2 separate regions of the Homo sapiens genome follow, and region 2 is linked to region 1. The links are contacts of gene promoters, found by promoter capture Hi-C in blood cells and fetal thymus (Javierre and others, 2016). All regions are on one chromosome and are shown on one strand. Each heading gives the region's core, a stretch centred on a gene start or on the middle of the fragment in contact. The rest is flanking DNA. Distances are from core to core; before and after follow the strand shown.

The links. Contacts are between HindIII fragments. The CHiCAGO score rates a contact against its expected background, and 5 or more counts as called.
Region 2: a contact is called between a fragment that was not itself captured here and the fragment with the promoter of DUSP16 in region 1, in 1 of 17 cell types (endothelial precursors). The highest score is 5.0, in endothelial precursors.

What each region holds. Positions count from the first base shown.
Region 1 is chr12:12,561,613-12,568,955 of GRCh38, reverse strand. It overlaps DUSP16 (dual specificity phosphatase 16), which reads left to right and starts at 6,093. Exons shown (of 7, transcript NM_030640.3): 1 at 6,093-6,839. It also overlaps the pseudogene RPL19P17. RefSeq lists silencers at 5,784-6,293, 6,744-6,823, 6,854-6,973, 6,994-7,193. The HindIII fragment of the contact is 13,074 bases long and covers 1-7,343 here.
Region 2 is chr12:12,076,366-12,083,799 of GRCh38, reverse strand. BCL2L14 (BCL2 like 14) reads right to left here. Exons shown (of 6, transcript NM_138723.2): 2 at 4,062-4,501. The coding sequence starts at 4,494. Among named protein-coding and RNA genes, the nearest start is that of BCL2L14, 9.1 kb to the right of the region's middle. RefSeq lists a silencer at 1,671-1,965. The HindIII fragment of the contact is 231 bases long and covers 5,110-5,340 here.

The sequences.
Region 1 (7,343 bases), core at 4,844-7,343:
TATACTCTCTAGGAATCCACAAATCCTAGGCTAAGAACATTTGACTTAGGAACATTCAAAGGATCCTTGGAGATTAACAAAATTGTCAAAAACTCTCTCTTCCTATTGGAAAAGGGAGCTGTTATATTACCTAAAAAATAGAGAATATTAAAACTGTTTTTGCTGCTGCAGCTGAAGCCATGCATATGCTCAGGCTTCAGAGGAAGTTTTCCTCTAATGTCTTTTGCTGTGGCAAAAAGAAGGTCTGGTTGGCTCCCAGAGACCAATGTTAACTCCCATCAGCAAATCCAGAAGCTGATCAAACATGGGCTGATCATCCGCAAGCCTGTGCCTGTCCATTCCCAGGCTCCTTGATGCCAGAAAACCTTGGACCATCGGAAGGGCAGGCACCTGGGCATAGGTAAGCAAGAAGGTACAGCCAATGCCCAAAGGCCAGGGAAGGTAACCTGGATAAGGAGAATGAGGATTCTGTGCCAGCTTCTTAGAAGATACTGTGAATCTAAGAAGACTGATTGCCACATGTATTACACTCTGTACCAGAAGGTGAAAGGGATTGTGTTCAAAAACAAGCGTATTCTCATGGAATTGTCCGCAAGCTGAAGGTAGACAAGTCCCGCAAGAAGCTCCTGGTGGACCAGGCTGAGGCCCACTGGCCTAAGACTAAGGAAGTGTGCAAACTTCATGACGAGTGCCTCCAGGCCAAGAAGGAGGAGATCATCAAGATGTTGTCCAAGGAGGAAGAGACCGAGAGATAAAGCTCCTCCTTTCTTGTCTATACATAGTGGCCTCAGTAATTACATAGACCATTCAAACAAAACAGGCTTTTATCTGCTTGAAAAAAAACCCAACTCTCTAAAACGCAACCTTTTATGCTTACTTAATTGCAAATGTCCTCTTCATAAATCAGATCATGTACTAACTGCTTAAATCTTTCAGAATAGAATCTGAACTCCATACACTATAAGGTACTACATAATCTGGCTCCTGCCCACCCTTGTTTTATACTTTTGTGCCCCACTGGCTTCCTTTGGCTCTGGGAACACACCAACTCTCTACAAGTCACTCTGTTTCTGCTGAACGGTCTTAGAGTGACCTGTTTTCTCTACCCTGACCACTTCCCCTGTTGCCATCCTTAAGGTCTCAGTTCAAATGTCCCCTCTTCATTTGAACTTCCCCCACCACCTTCACCCCTACCCCAAGTCACTCACTATCACCTCACCCAGTTTTTTTTCCCTGTGTAGTCCATCTTGTCACAGTCCAGGCCGTGGTTTTTGTTTATTGGCTTATTGTCTTCTCTCTCCACTTGAATGTTAGTTTCATGAGAGATAGGTAATCTTATTTATAACCATATTCCCAGAGCTAGGTGCAGTGCCTGGCACATAAGGGTAGTAGGCACTCAATCACTGTTTGTCAATGAATAAACTTCAGCCAGGGATGGATTAAGTAAGACCTTAAGAGGGTCTAAACACTAAGGATTATGGTGCTTCTCCCCCATATTTAATTCTAACCAGCAATTTTGGTGCTCCTTCCCCATATTTAACTCTAACTAAAAAACAGTACTAAACCACACACTTACATGTACTGAAGCAAAAATAGCTTCTTTCTAGATTATCTGATTGTAAACCTTGGACTCCCTGCCTTGCTGGTGCCCTAAGTGTATGTGCTCTTCCTCTGTCTTGGGGGAGTCTAGCACTCACTCAGTCCTCTAGATGTGTTGGACACTGTTTTAGTTTAAGATTGCTTATGACTACAAAAAACCTTGCTGGGATATTGATGAAAATTACGTTAACTCTATAGATCAATTTGGGAAGAAATGACATGTTTATTGATTCTTCCAATCCATGAATATAGTATGCCATTCCAATTATTTGTCTTCTTTAATTTCTTTCATCAGCATTTTATAATTTTCATCACACAGATGTTGTACATGTTTTGTTAGATTTATATGTAAATATTTCACGTTCTTTGGAGCAATTGTAAAATGGTTCTGTTTTTAATTTCTGTTTCCACATTTTTTATTATTATTTTTTATTTTTTATTATTTTTTTTTTATTGATCATTCTTGGGTGTTTCTCGCAGAGGGGGATTTGGCAGGGTCACAGGACAATAGTGGAGGGAAGGTCAGCAGATAAACAAGTGAACAAAGGTCTCTGGTTTTCCTAGGCAGAGGACCCCGCGGCCTTCCGCAGTGTCTGTGTCACTGGGTACTTGAGATTAAGGAGTGGTGATGACTCTTAACGAGCATGCTGCCTTCAAGCATCTGTTTAACAAAGCACATCTTGCACCGCCCTTAATCCATTTAACCCTGAGTGGACACAGCACATGTTTCAGAGAGCACAGGGTTGGGGGTAAGGTCACAGATCAACAGGATCCCAAGGCAGAAGAATTTTTCTTAGTACAGAACAAAATGAAAAGTCTCCCATGTCTACTTCTTTCTACACAGACACGGCAACCATCTGATTTCTCAATCTTTTCCCCACCTTCCCCCCCTTTCCATTCCACAAAACCGCCATTGTCATCATGGCCCGTTCTCAATGAGCTGTTGGGTACACCTCCCAGACGGGGTGGTGGCCAGGCAGAGGGGCTCCTCACTTCCCAGTAGGGGCGGCCGGGCAGAGGCGCCCCTCACCTCCCGGACGGGGCGGCTGGCCAGGCGTGGGGCTGACCCCCCCACCTCCCTCCCAGACAGGGCGGCTGGCCTGGCGGGGGCTGAGCCCCACCTCCTTCCCGGACTGGGTGGCTGCCGGGCGGAGACGCTCCTCACTTCCCAGACGGGGTGGCTGCCGGGCGGAGGGGCTCCTCACTTCGCAGACGGGGCGGCTGCCGGGCGGAGGGTCTCCTCCCTTCTCAGACGGGGTGGCTGGGCAGAGACGCTCCTCACCTCCCAGACGGGGCGGCGGGGCAGAGGCGCTCCCCACATCTCAGACGATGGGCGGCCGGGCAGAGACGCTCCTCACTTCCTAGATGGGATGGCAGCCGGGAAGAGGCGCTCCTCACTTCCTAGATGGGATGGCGGCCGGGCAGAGACGCTCCTCACTTCCAGATGGGGCAGCCAGGCAGAGGGGCTCCTCACGTCCCAGACGATGGGCAGCCAGGCAGAGACGCTCCTCACTTCCCAGATGGGGTGGCGGCCGGGCAGAGGCTGCACTCTCAGCACTTTGGGAGGCCAAGGCAGGCGGCTGGGAGGTGGAGGTTGTAGCGAGCCGAGATCACGCCACTGCACTCCAGCCTGGGCACCATTGAGCACTGAGTGAACCAGACTCAGTCTGCAATCCCGGCACCTCAGGAGGCCGAGGCTGGCGGATCACTCACGGTTAGGAGCTGGAGACCAGCCCGGCCAACACAGCGAAACCCCGTCTCCACCAAAAAAATACGAAAACCAGTCAGGCGTGGCGGTGCGTGCCTGCAATCGCAGGCACTCAGCAGGCTAAGGCAGGAGAATCAGGCAGGGAGGTTGCAGTGAGCCGAGATGGCAGCAGTATAGTCCAGCTTCGGCTCGGCATCAGAGGGAGATCGTGGAAAGAGAGGGAGCGGGAGCGGGAGCGGGAGAGGGAGAGGGCTGTTTCCACATATTTATTGTTAGTATGTAGAAAACCTTTCTTAGTAAAAGAAAGAAATGTACTCTTCGGTGAAGTAAACTTGTTTAGTGGTTTCCCCTTCACCTGCTGGGCAGGTAACAATCTATTTATTCTAACATTCAAGTACCTCCACAATGTGCCTCTGTATCTCTTAAATTTAACCTCATACCTAATTGCTAAATACCGATTTCTACTGCTACTGGGTTTACTCTTCTGTCACTTGAATACACCTTACTCATTATTCATTCCACCTCCATGTCTTGGCTCATTGCCATTTGCCCTCTGGAATCTTCCCTCCACTGGCTTCTTCACTGCAAACTAAATCTGAACTGTCCTTCAAGGATAAGGTCAAAACTCTTTATAAGGTGCCTTCCCTGATAATCCCAGCCTACATTGCTCCTTTTCTCCCCTGATGTTTTTTTTTGTTTGTTTGTTTTTTTTTTTTTTTTTGAGATGGAGTCTCACTCTGTTGCCAGGCTGGAGTCTGGAGTGCAGTGGTGCGATCTCGGCTCATTGCAACCTCCACCTCCCGGGTTCAAGTGATTCTTCTGCCTCAGCCTCCTGAGTAGCTGGGACTACAGGCGCCCACCACCACGCCTGGCTAATTTTTGTATTTTTAGTAGAGACGGGGTTTCACCATGTTGGCCAGGATGGTCTCGATCTCTTGACCTCATGATCCACCCGCCTCGGGCCTCCCAAAGTGCTGGGATTATAGGCTTAAGCCACCACGCCCGGCCCCCTGACTCTTTTAACCAATATTGTACATCACTCAATCATTGATTTCGTTTTTAATGAGCTTTAATATACGTCTTGTTTCCAGAAATAGATGAAATACCCTGAGAGACTTCTATGATAGCTATGATGGCACCACATCATACATTACACAAACTTAATTGTGTAACTGAGGAAAGGGGAGAAACGTTTCAAGCCATGTCAGTTAAAGCAAGGTTACTGGAACTTTGGCATGCAAAGGGGATACCATTAATTCTCATGAATCTTTCCTCCAGGCAAGATCCATGCTCTGTACCACTAGTAAAAGGACTATCTTCTTCTTCCTTCCTAAAAATCCCAACACCTCCAACAAAGGTCTACAGTTAGATTTTTAGGGGTTTCCTGGTAGAGCACAAATAATCCCAAGGAAGCTGCAGTAACACCTCCTGGCCACCAGAGGACAGGGAGCAGTGGGAGAGATTTGCTTCCCCTAGCAAAGTCTTCAAGAGGCCAGAGGCACAGGCTCAAAGTTGCTTCTCCATCTGTGGCCTTCAGGCTTTACCTACTACTGCCAGAGGTGCTAGGGTGCCTCCCATCTTCAAATGGGCTTTTTTTTTCCCTCCTATAAAAGATGGGCCAGAAGTTCCCAGGGCCATACCCCGCAACACTAACCTTCAATGATTACCAATCATAAGGAATGCCTTTAGTTGCAGGACTTAAAGGCAGAAAAGTAGTAACAGGGGTGTATTATCTTTCGAACCCACCCAAACCTGCTTATCAGTTCTTTTGCTAGTGGAAAAACGTGCTTTAGGCAGGGTGCACATGGATATCCCACAGCAAACAGTGCCTTTAGGGTCTAGTGTCCCAATCCGGCACATTGTAAATGGAATATTTGAAGAGTTAGATTATTCCTACACATAAATTCTGGCTCATGGAGCAGTCCACTCGCAGGGTGCTTTTCCGTCATTAATCACATCTTTGTTATGTGATATCCACGTGAGTACTTCTCAGTAGAAGCAGCTTCATGCTCAAATGCTCAAAGAACATTGGAATAAAGCTCCGATTGTCCTATTCAGTGATTCCAAGTCCTGGTTTGTCACCACCTCAGGTCTCTCGTTTTCCAAAGTGCATAATGTCATCTCAAAACAGACATTTTAATGAATTCAAATAATAAAATGCACGAGGTATGTGGAGTTAAATCAACAAGGGTTTTGTACCTCTCAAGAGGCGGTTAACCCCTGGTCTTATTTAAAGATGTTTCTGCGCTGCCTCCTGTAGAAAACATTTTTAAAGAAAATGTAGGCTGCTTATCCTTGTATTTGTAAATATAAGCAAAGTAAAGTAATGTAGGAACATTTATGTGGGGGCTTTCAACCATAAACATATAGATAGCTGAATGCCTGACAACAGTAGTGTGATTTTTCTTGAAGTACCTGTAACTTCTCTCCTGAGAGATGGCAGAGCCTTGCCTTTTGCATTCGCCAGACTTTTTACAGAGCGAGTGTAATTCTCTCAAATCAGTGTTTGCGTTTTTTGACGTTGGTGAGGCAGCTGGAAACAGCTCAAGGAGGAGGGAAAGGTTCTGCGTCTGGGTGAGGGAGAAAACCCTCCGATACCTGTTGGGGCGCAGCACTGGAGGCGGACACCCCGGCCCGGGGGTCGGGGCCGCGAGCCCGGGGGTAGGGGGCGGGCGCGCGGGCGCGGGAGGAGGAGGAGGAGGAGGGAGAGGTGGGGGAGGAGGCCGCGGGGCCGCCTCCTCCGGCAGCTCCGGCTCCTCCCAGCGGCGCCCGCGGAACCTGCCTCAGAGTCGCCGGACTCTGGAAGGGAACATGACCTGACCCCTCCCCGAGCGGCCGGAACGAGGCGCGGAGCCGCGCTCCGGGCTCGGGCGGCCGCGGGATGGGCGAGCGCGCGGCCCCGCCCGGCGCCCACCGCCCTGCCCTCGCCTGTCTCCTCCTTTCCCCGGGGCTCCGCTGAGTTCATTCACTGGGATTGGTTTCAAGTGACGCCATCTCTTTATTTTTAAACCAATGACCTCATCCGCGCTTGAAGTTTCCTGACCAGCGACTCTTTCTCTTTCCCCCAACCCCCCACCCCACCCCCCCGCCTTTCCCCCTCTTTCTATGTATCAGTGTTTGGGGGGCTTTAATCAGTTTTTAAACGATTATTACCACCTCTCTCTCCCCCCCAACCCCCACTTTCACAACGCGGCCCCCCACCTTTACCTCCCTAAGTTCTTCATCTCTTTCGACATTTTTTTTGAAGGCTGATGGGGGGGAGGGTGGAAGAGAAAGAGTGAAGAAAAGTTGCGAGCGTCTCCTCTCTTCCTAAGCCTCCCGCCCCAACCCACCCCTCAGAGAAGGAGAAGATAATATACTGAAAAGAAGAGGAGGAGGAGAGCGACGGGACGGGACGCGAGCGGGAGCGCAGCCGCCCTCTCGGCTCCGCGGCGGCGCCTCGCAAGTCCGGGAGGCGAGGGGGGCCCGAGGGGAGACGCCGTGACAACTTTCGTTTCCCTCTGAGGGAATTGGGAGGTCGGCGGCCCCAAAAGTAAGTGGCCTTGGCGGGCCGCGCGGGGTGTGCGGGCGGGAGGGTGCGGGGCCCGGGGCGCCCTCCCGCCCGGCCGCATGGACGCTCCGCAGCGCGCCCCGACTCCCGGTGCCGGGCGCCGCGCTCCAGCCCCGCCGTCTCTGCCTTCCCGGGCGTACCGGCCACCCTTTCGGGAGGCGGCGTGGGGGCGACCGCGGCCGGGGGCCGCAGGAGCGTTTGAAGCGGGGGTGTAGGCCTGGCCGGAGGCTGGCCGGAGCGGGAAGGGGGCGTGCGGCCGGGCGCGGGGTCGCAGTGGGTGCGCTCCCGGCCGCTGCGCGGCGCTTGGACCGGGCCCCGCCGAGAGGAGCGGCCGCCGCGGGACGCGGCACCTTTGCGGGCGAAGCTGCTCACTTCCAGGCGCGACTGTTACACAACACGCCTGCCAAGTGGGGCCCTGGCCTGACTGTTCCCATTATCCCCAGTTCGCCTTTGGTGTAAGCAGCGAGGCCACCTGGGTGGTGACGG
Region 2 (7,434 bases), core at 3,976-6,475, 480 kb after region 1:
ATTTTTGTATTTTTTTTAATAGAGACGGGGTTTTGTCATGTTGCTCAGGCTGGTCTCAAACTCTTTGGCTCAAGTGATCTGCCCACCTCAGACTCCCAAAGGGCTGGGATTATAGGCATGAGCCACCCTGCCTGGCCATTCCCAGAAATTCTTAATAACTTTGTGGAGCTGTCATATCATGCCTGAGCTGCCAAACTTTTGTCCTCTTTTAAAGGAGAGAAAAGCAAACCTGTATATTATTTAAGCCATGGGTATTTGAGTGTTCCACTGTATATCGCTGAACCTCACCTTAACTATAACATTCCACGTGAGCAAATCGTAGCTATGGAGAAACAAAAGATTCACAAGTGAAAGAGCCTGGGTTGGTAGTCTTTAAAACTGGTGTTATTGTCCATTTCTCTGCATCCTGAGGCCTCTTCCTAACAGAGTTTGGTCTTGGGACATAATCTCACAGTTCCCATGTAAGCCCGGTACTGAGGCCTGGCAGTGGCTGTACAAGGCTACATAGTGACTTACAGTTAAAATAACCCAGGTGAGGCCAGGCACGGTGGCTCACGCCTGTAATCCCAGCACTTTGGGAGGCTGAGGCGGACAGATCACGAGGCCAGGAGATCGAGACCATCCTGGCTAACACGATGAAACCCTGTCTCTACTAAAAATACAAAAAATTAGCCGGGCGTGGTGGTGGGCGCCCGTAGTCCCAGCTACTCGGGAGGCTGAGGCAGGAGAATGGTGTGAACCCAGGAGGCAGAGGTTGCAGTGAGCCGAGATCAGGCCACTGCACTCCAGCCTGGGTGACAGAGCAAGACTCTGTCTCAAAAACAACAAACAAACAAACAAAAAAGAACCCAGGAGAAACCAAATTTGCAAGGCCTGATTTGTATGTGGCAAAATAGAAATAGAATGTGAGGCTCTCTTGGATCACGCTCAATGTAAAACCGACACAAGTAACACAAGTAAAAAACACACAATTAACTGACTAAATGCAAGCGTGAGGAGAAAGGTGATAAGGGAAGATAAGCTGTAAATATGTGTTTAAAGCCTTCTTAGGAGGTAATCATTTTTCATTTTTTATGGAGAATATTATTCAGCCATAGGTACTATTCAGCTATTCAGCACATTAACACATCACCTAAGTGTTTTTGAATGTAATCTTTAATTCTCAATCTCACATAAAAGTTTTCTTTCCCTACTGAAAAAAGAAATAAAAGCTTCTCTTGAAATTTTAGAAAATAAAAAAAATGTCAAATGACACTCCAGTAAATACTGAAATACAGAATGCAATTTATCTCAGGAAAAACCAGAAGACTAAGGTCTGTAAAAGCTTTCTCTGTCTGCTGGCAAAGTCCACAGTACAGGCCAAGTAGAAAAGCCTATTTAGGTGCCTCCAAACTGTTCTTTGCCCCAGAGCCCAGATGCCACCCCCGGCAGAAGAAGCCATGGCTGGGTGAGGGCAGCTGAGGGGTGGGGAGGCAGATGTGGAGGGAAGGACCACAGGGGGCCGCTCCCTCTTGCCCTAGACCTGCCCTAGCTGGGCAGAGTTCAGAGAGCAGATGCCTTGCTGTAAAAATGAAACAAGTCTAGGGAGAGGCCTGGACTTCTGGTGAGTCCAGGCTCTGCTACTTCCTGGATGTTTCCTTGGTAAGCCCTTTTTGTGGGACTCCCATTTCCTCATCCTGTCTGTGCCATGAGGTTCCCTCAGATGATCCTGACCATAACTCCCACTGTTCTAAACATCTGAAACTCTAATGGGAAAAGGGAGTTTCCTTGATCATAGTGAGTGATCTAAAGCTGTCTATGAGTGGGCTGATTCTCCAAGCAAGCCAGGACTGTCACATTTAAAAACTGAGACATTACTGCCACCTCTTGACTAATTATTGACAAGTTACCCAGGCCAATGAAACTCAGCAGGAGGGGGCCTTTCTTTTAAAATCTGGCTTTGCGGCTGGGTGCAGTGGCTCACACTTGTAATCCCAGCACTTCGGGAGCCCAAGGTGGGCAGATCACGAGGTCAGGAGTTCGAGGCCAGCCTGACCAACATGGTGAAACGCTGTCTCTACTAAAAATACAAAAATTAGCCAGGCCTGGTGGTGCGCGCCTGTGATCCCAGCTACTCAGGAGGCTGAGGCAGGAGAATTGCTTGAACCTGGGAGGCGGAGCTTGCAGTGAGCCGAGATTACACCACAGCACTCCAGCCTGGGCGACAGAGCAAGACTCCATCTAAAACACCTTAAAAAAAAAAAAAAAATCTGGGCTTTGGGCACTGGGCTTTGTTGAAGGGGAAGAAGATGCTTATGCCAAGGTGTGCGCATGAAGGGCAACTGTCTTTTTTTTTTTTTTTTTGGAGACAGAGTCTCATTATGTCACCCAGAGCTGGGGTGCAGTGATGTGATCTTCGCTCACTGCAGCCTTGACCTCCTGAGCTCAAGTGATCCTTCCACCTCAGCCTCCATAGTAGCTGGGACAACAGGCATGTGCCACCATGCCTCGCTAATTTTTTTATTTTAATTTTTTAATGGAGACAGGGTCTTGCTATGATGCCAGGCTGATCTCAAACTCTTGGTGTCAAGTGATCCTCCTGCCTTGGTTTCCCACAGTGCTGAGAGTATCGACGTGATGGGCTCTCACTCTGTCACCCAGGCTGGAGTGCAGTGGCATCATCTTGGCTCACTGCAACCTCTACTTCCCAGGCTCAAGCCATCCTCCCACCTCAGCCTCCCGAGTAGCCAGGACCACAGGCGTGCACCACCATGTCTGACTAATTTTTTTGTATTTTTTGGTAGAGACAGGGTTTTGCCATGTTGCTAAGGCTGGTCTTGAACTCCTGAGCTCAACCGATCCACCCACCTTGGCCTCCCAAAGTGCTGGGATTACAGGTATGAGCCTCAGTGCCTGGTGAAAATGTTTCATTAAGTACAATTAATTTTGTCCAACTGAGGGAAGATTTTGTCTAAATGCTTCTCAGTTGTTTTTGTAGGATGGTTTGTACTTTGTCAAGAGTCCTTTTACTCTTGCTCTCTGATCTTCCCATCAACCATACGAGGTGGAGAGAGTGGGGTACCCAATGTACAGATGGAAACACAGAGGCCCTGAGCGAATGAGTTGACTTAGGAAGAGCAGCGGCCCAGGCAGCCCAAGCAAGCCCCTGGTTAGGGCTCGTTCTTTTTTTTTTTTTTTTTTGAGACAAAGTCTTACCCTGTAGCTCAGGCTGGAGTGCAGTGATGCAATCTCGGCTCACTGCAACCTCCGCCTCCCAGGTTCAAGCGATTCTCTTGCCCCAGCCTCCCGAGTAGCTGGGAATACAAGCATGCGCCACCATGCCCGGCTAATTTTTTGTATCTTTAGTAGAGACGGGTTTTCACTATGTTGGCCAGGCTAGTCTTGAACTCCTGACCTTATGATCTGCCCACCTCAACCTTCCAAAGTGCTGGAATTACAGGCATGAGCCACTGCGCCTAGCCTCCTTCTTTTATATTGGTGTCTGGTACAGAGGACTAGGAATTTGGGAAACAAGCTTATTTATAGACAGTGGAGAAAGAAAACCAGTCCCAGCACCCTTAACTTCCATCATTTCCTTTTAGTCATTTTTTTTTTTTTGACGGAGTCTCACTCTGTCACCCAAGCTGGAGTGCAGTGATGCCATCTTGGCTCACTGCAAGCTCCGCCTGCTGGGTTCACGCCATTCTCCTGCCTCAGCCTCCCGAGTAGCTGGGACTACAGGCACCCGCCAACACGCCCGGCTAATTTTTTGTATTTTTTAGTGGAGACGGGGTTTTACCGTGTTAGCCAGGATGGTCTCAATCTCCTGACCTCATGATCCACCCGCCTTGGCCTCCCAGAGTGCTGGGATTACAGGCGTGAGCCACCGCGCCCAGGCAGCAACTCCTTTTAGTCTTGAGAAAAGCAGGGCAATTATGATTGAACACTAATAAGTTGGAAAGCTGAGGCACAACGCATGCCTTCTCTAAAGCCACTTTACAACATGAGAAGAGATGTACCACTCTGGACACAAAGAAGGGAAAAACCAGGAAGCGGGAGAGAAAGAAATCCCAGATGCCTACCTTCATGCTCCAAGCACTGCTCCACGTTAGAAAGACACCTGGACCACTGCTGGCTGTGCGAATCTTGGTATTCCAACGTCCTTTGACCCTGAGCAGAGACCTTGGCAGGCGTGCTCTGCGAATCTTCCTTCTCCACTACTCCAAAGAATGCTTTCCAAGAAGACTTTTTCTTGCCAAGGTTTATGGCCTTCTCACTGGATTGGGAATTTCTGCAAGGCCATGACACCTCTGTCCATGACTCATTTGCTGAACAATTCCCCAGGCCCCTCTGGGACAAACTTCTTGTTCTCAGCAGCTTTGGTGAGAAGAGAGCAGGGGTGCTCTTGAAGACATGATGTCTGGTGTAGTAGGCGAGGATTTTGAATTCTATGGTGTTTAGGTCATCATCATCTAGGGGGATTTCTTCCAGGTCACACCCACTGGTGCTACACATGTTGGGCCTGTAACAACAAAGTCCACACTGTGCCCTTCTATGCAGGGCCACTTACCCTTTGCAGGTTAGGAGAGACAGGGGTGAAAACTCAGGAAACATTTATTGAACATCTATTGTGTTTGTGCTGGAGGGTAGAGAGGGAAAAGCCACAGTCTTACTAGGGTGGGAAGAGAGACATGGCCATAGATAACTCCACATAAAGAAAATGAACTGCCGGGTGCGGTGGCTCACGCCTGTAATCCCAAAACTTTGGGAGGCCAAGGCGGGCAGATCATGAGGTCAGGAGTTCAAGACCAGCCTGGCCTATACAGTGAAAGCCCGTCTCTACTAAAGATACAAAAATTAGCCAGGCATGGTGGCGCACGCCTGTAGACCCGGCTACTTGGGAGGCTGCGGCAGAAGAATCGCTTGAACCCAGGAGTCGGGGGTTGTAGTGAGCTGAGATTGCGCCACTGCACTCCAGCCTGGCGACAGAGTGAGACTCCGTCTCAAAAAACAAAAAACAACAGAGAGAGAATGAACTAATGAACTAAGTAAGAGGTCTAACAGAGATGCAGATAGCCAGGTTAGAAGGCAGGGATAGGTGAGCTTCAAAGAAAGAGGCAAGTGAAAGCTTTTGGAAAGCTAGAAGGAGTTAGACAGGTGGGTGGATATTGGGGCTACAACAGGGCGGGCAGAGGGGAGATTATAGGTGAATTCAGAATGTGTTTGAAGAGTGGTGAGAGAACTGGGACAGCATACGTATGCAGTTTGCAAATAGCCAGGGCTTGAAAATAGTGGAGGGAAAATAAGTGAACTAGCACTTGGGTCCAGATTATGGTGGTCTTTGACTATCAGGCTGAAGCTTCGCATTTTCTCACGTTGATCAGTACATTTCAAAATGAGCTGTGGACTGTGGAGTTAAAGGTCTTGCTGGGGAGGTGGCAAAAGAGGGAGGCCAATTCAGGGAAGAGAAATGCCTGGGACCTGACCCTTCCCTTCCTCGGTTCCTTCTCCCTCTACCCTCTGCTTTAGCTTGTCCCGGCTTCTCTCTCCTCTCTCTCTCTCTTTCTTTTTTCTTGCTATATTTGGTATGCCATGTAAGATTTCATCTGAAAAAAGCATCCTGTTATTTTATTTTACTTTTTACGAATTTGAAACACACTGATGGAGGCAATGGAGAGCTGTTCAAAGTTTTGAGTAGAGAGTGATGTGATCACAGGCATGTTTGAAAAAGATCAGTACAAGCACTAAAACAACAGGATGCAAGCATTTCTTCTTTATTTCCATACGAATAACAGGATAGATAAAGAACTGATTTTGTTCAATTTCCTTTGCTTGAGCTTACATGAAATAACTCCTTCTCTGGTTTCCTGCTAGGAAAGCAGTTCTTTTTGCTAATAATCTGTTTCCTTCTGCTGTCTGTTAAGGACTACATTTTCCTTTTAGTCTCAGATGCGAGAAAGCTCAGATCTACCGTGTGAAATGTCCCAGGCAGTGAGCGTATCAAGAATTAGCTTGGGCTTCTCAGTCTAACAGTCCCAAATTCAGATTGTGGCCATGCCAGTGACTAGTTTTGTGACCTGTGGCAGGTTACTCCATCTCTCCAAACATGAACTTCCTGCAGGCAAATTGTAAATAATAATAGTCATCTTGCAGGGATATTGTAAGGGTGTAAGATACACAAGAGAAGTTCCTGCACAGAACCTGGTTCAAAAGTGGTAGCTATGTTTTTTTTCTAGTTCAGCTGTTGTCCTAGGCCCCAGGCTCTCTTTTTTTTTTTTTTTTTGAGACTCAGTTTTGCTCTGTTGCCCAGGCTGGAGTGCAGATCATAGCTCACCACAGCCTCAACCTCCCCGGCTCAAGGGATTCTCTCACCTCAGCCCCTCAAGTAGCTGGGAACACAGGCACATGCCACCACACCTGGCTAATTTTTTTGTTTTGTCTTTTAGAGACAAGGTCTCGCTATGTTGCCCAGTCTGGTGCGAAACTCCTGGGCTCAAGTGATCCACCTGCCTCAGCCTCCCAAAGTGCTGAGATTACAGCCATGAGCTACCATGCCCGGCCTCAGGCTCTGTCTTAATATGGCTCTTAATAATGTTCCCTTCCCTTTCTGGTCCTAATTTAAGACGGTCTTTCGGCATGTAAGCTGCTGTGATGATAAAGAAGCTGCAGTAATATTAAGGGGACTGGCTGGCATGTTCCTCTTTTTCTTTCCACTGTACCTTGTCATACCAGGACCAAATGATAAAGAAATGGGACAGTAACTGCAGACAGGGTTTGAGGCAATGTGAGGTGGTACAGACAAGTTGGCCTGGGTGTCTGAAGGATGGATAGCCACGGCTGGCTCAGCTTCTAACCTGCAACATCCTTGGGCAAGTCACGCCACCTTTTTGTTCCTCGGTGTCCAAGTTGTTAGATAGAATAAGGATATTCTCTAACTTTTCCCCCTGGTTCTGCTATTGGAAGGAGGTGTAGGAGCTGAAATATCTCCCCTGAGGGCCTGCTGGATGCTGCCTTTTTCCATCACTGTCTCCTCTCCTTTACTTAGAAGAGGCTCACATTGGCTGATAGCGAAGCTGTTGATCTGAGGAACTGCTCCTTGGCCAGGCCCCAGGAAAGCAAGGGTCCCTGGCTAGGTGCGTTCTGATGGAAGTGAGCCTGGGAGGGATGCAGCGGGCTATGCTGCAACATCAGGTGATGCTGGAGGGGACAAAAATGGCCCTCCCAGTGCAGCAAAGGGCAAGTTGCAAAACCCACCAGACCAACTACACAGATACAATTATACAACTTCCAAGCCCCGCAAACCTCCCTCACATAACTGGATGTAAGCAAATGCTTGAGGAGTATGGCATGAAGTGGGGGTCATGACTGCAATCCTTCCTCCTCCTCTGCTGTTTCTTCACATTCCTGTCTTATTCCAGGGCTTGGACAATCTTTCTTCCCGCCACTGCTCCAATT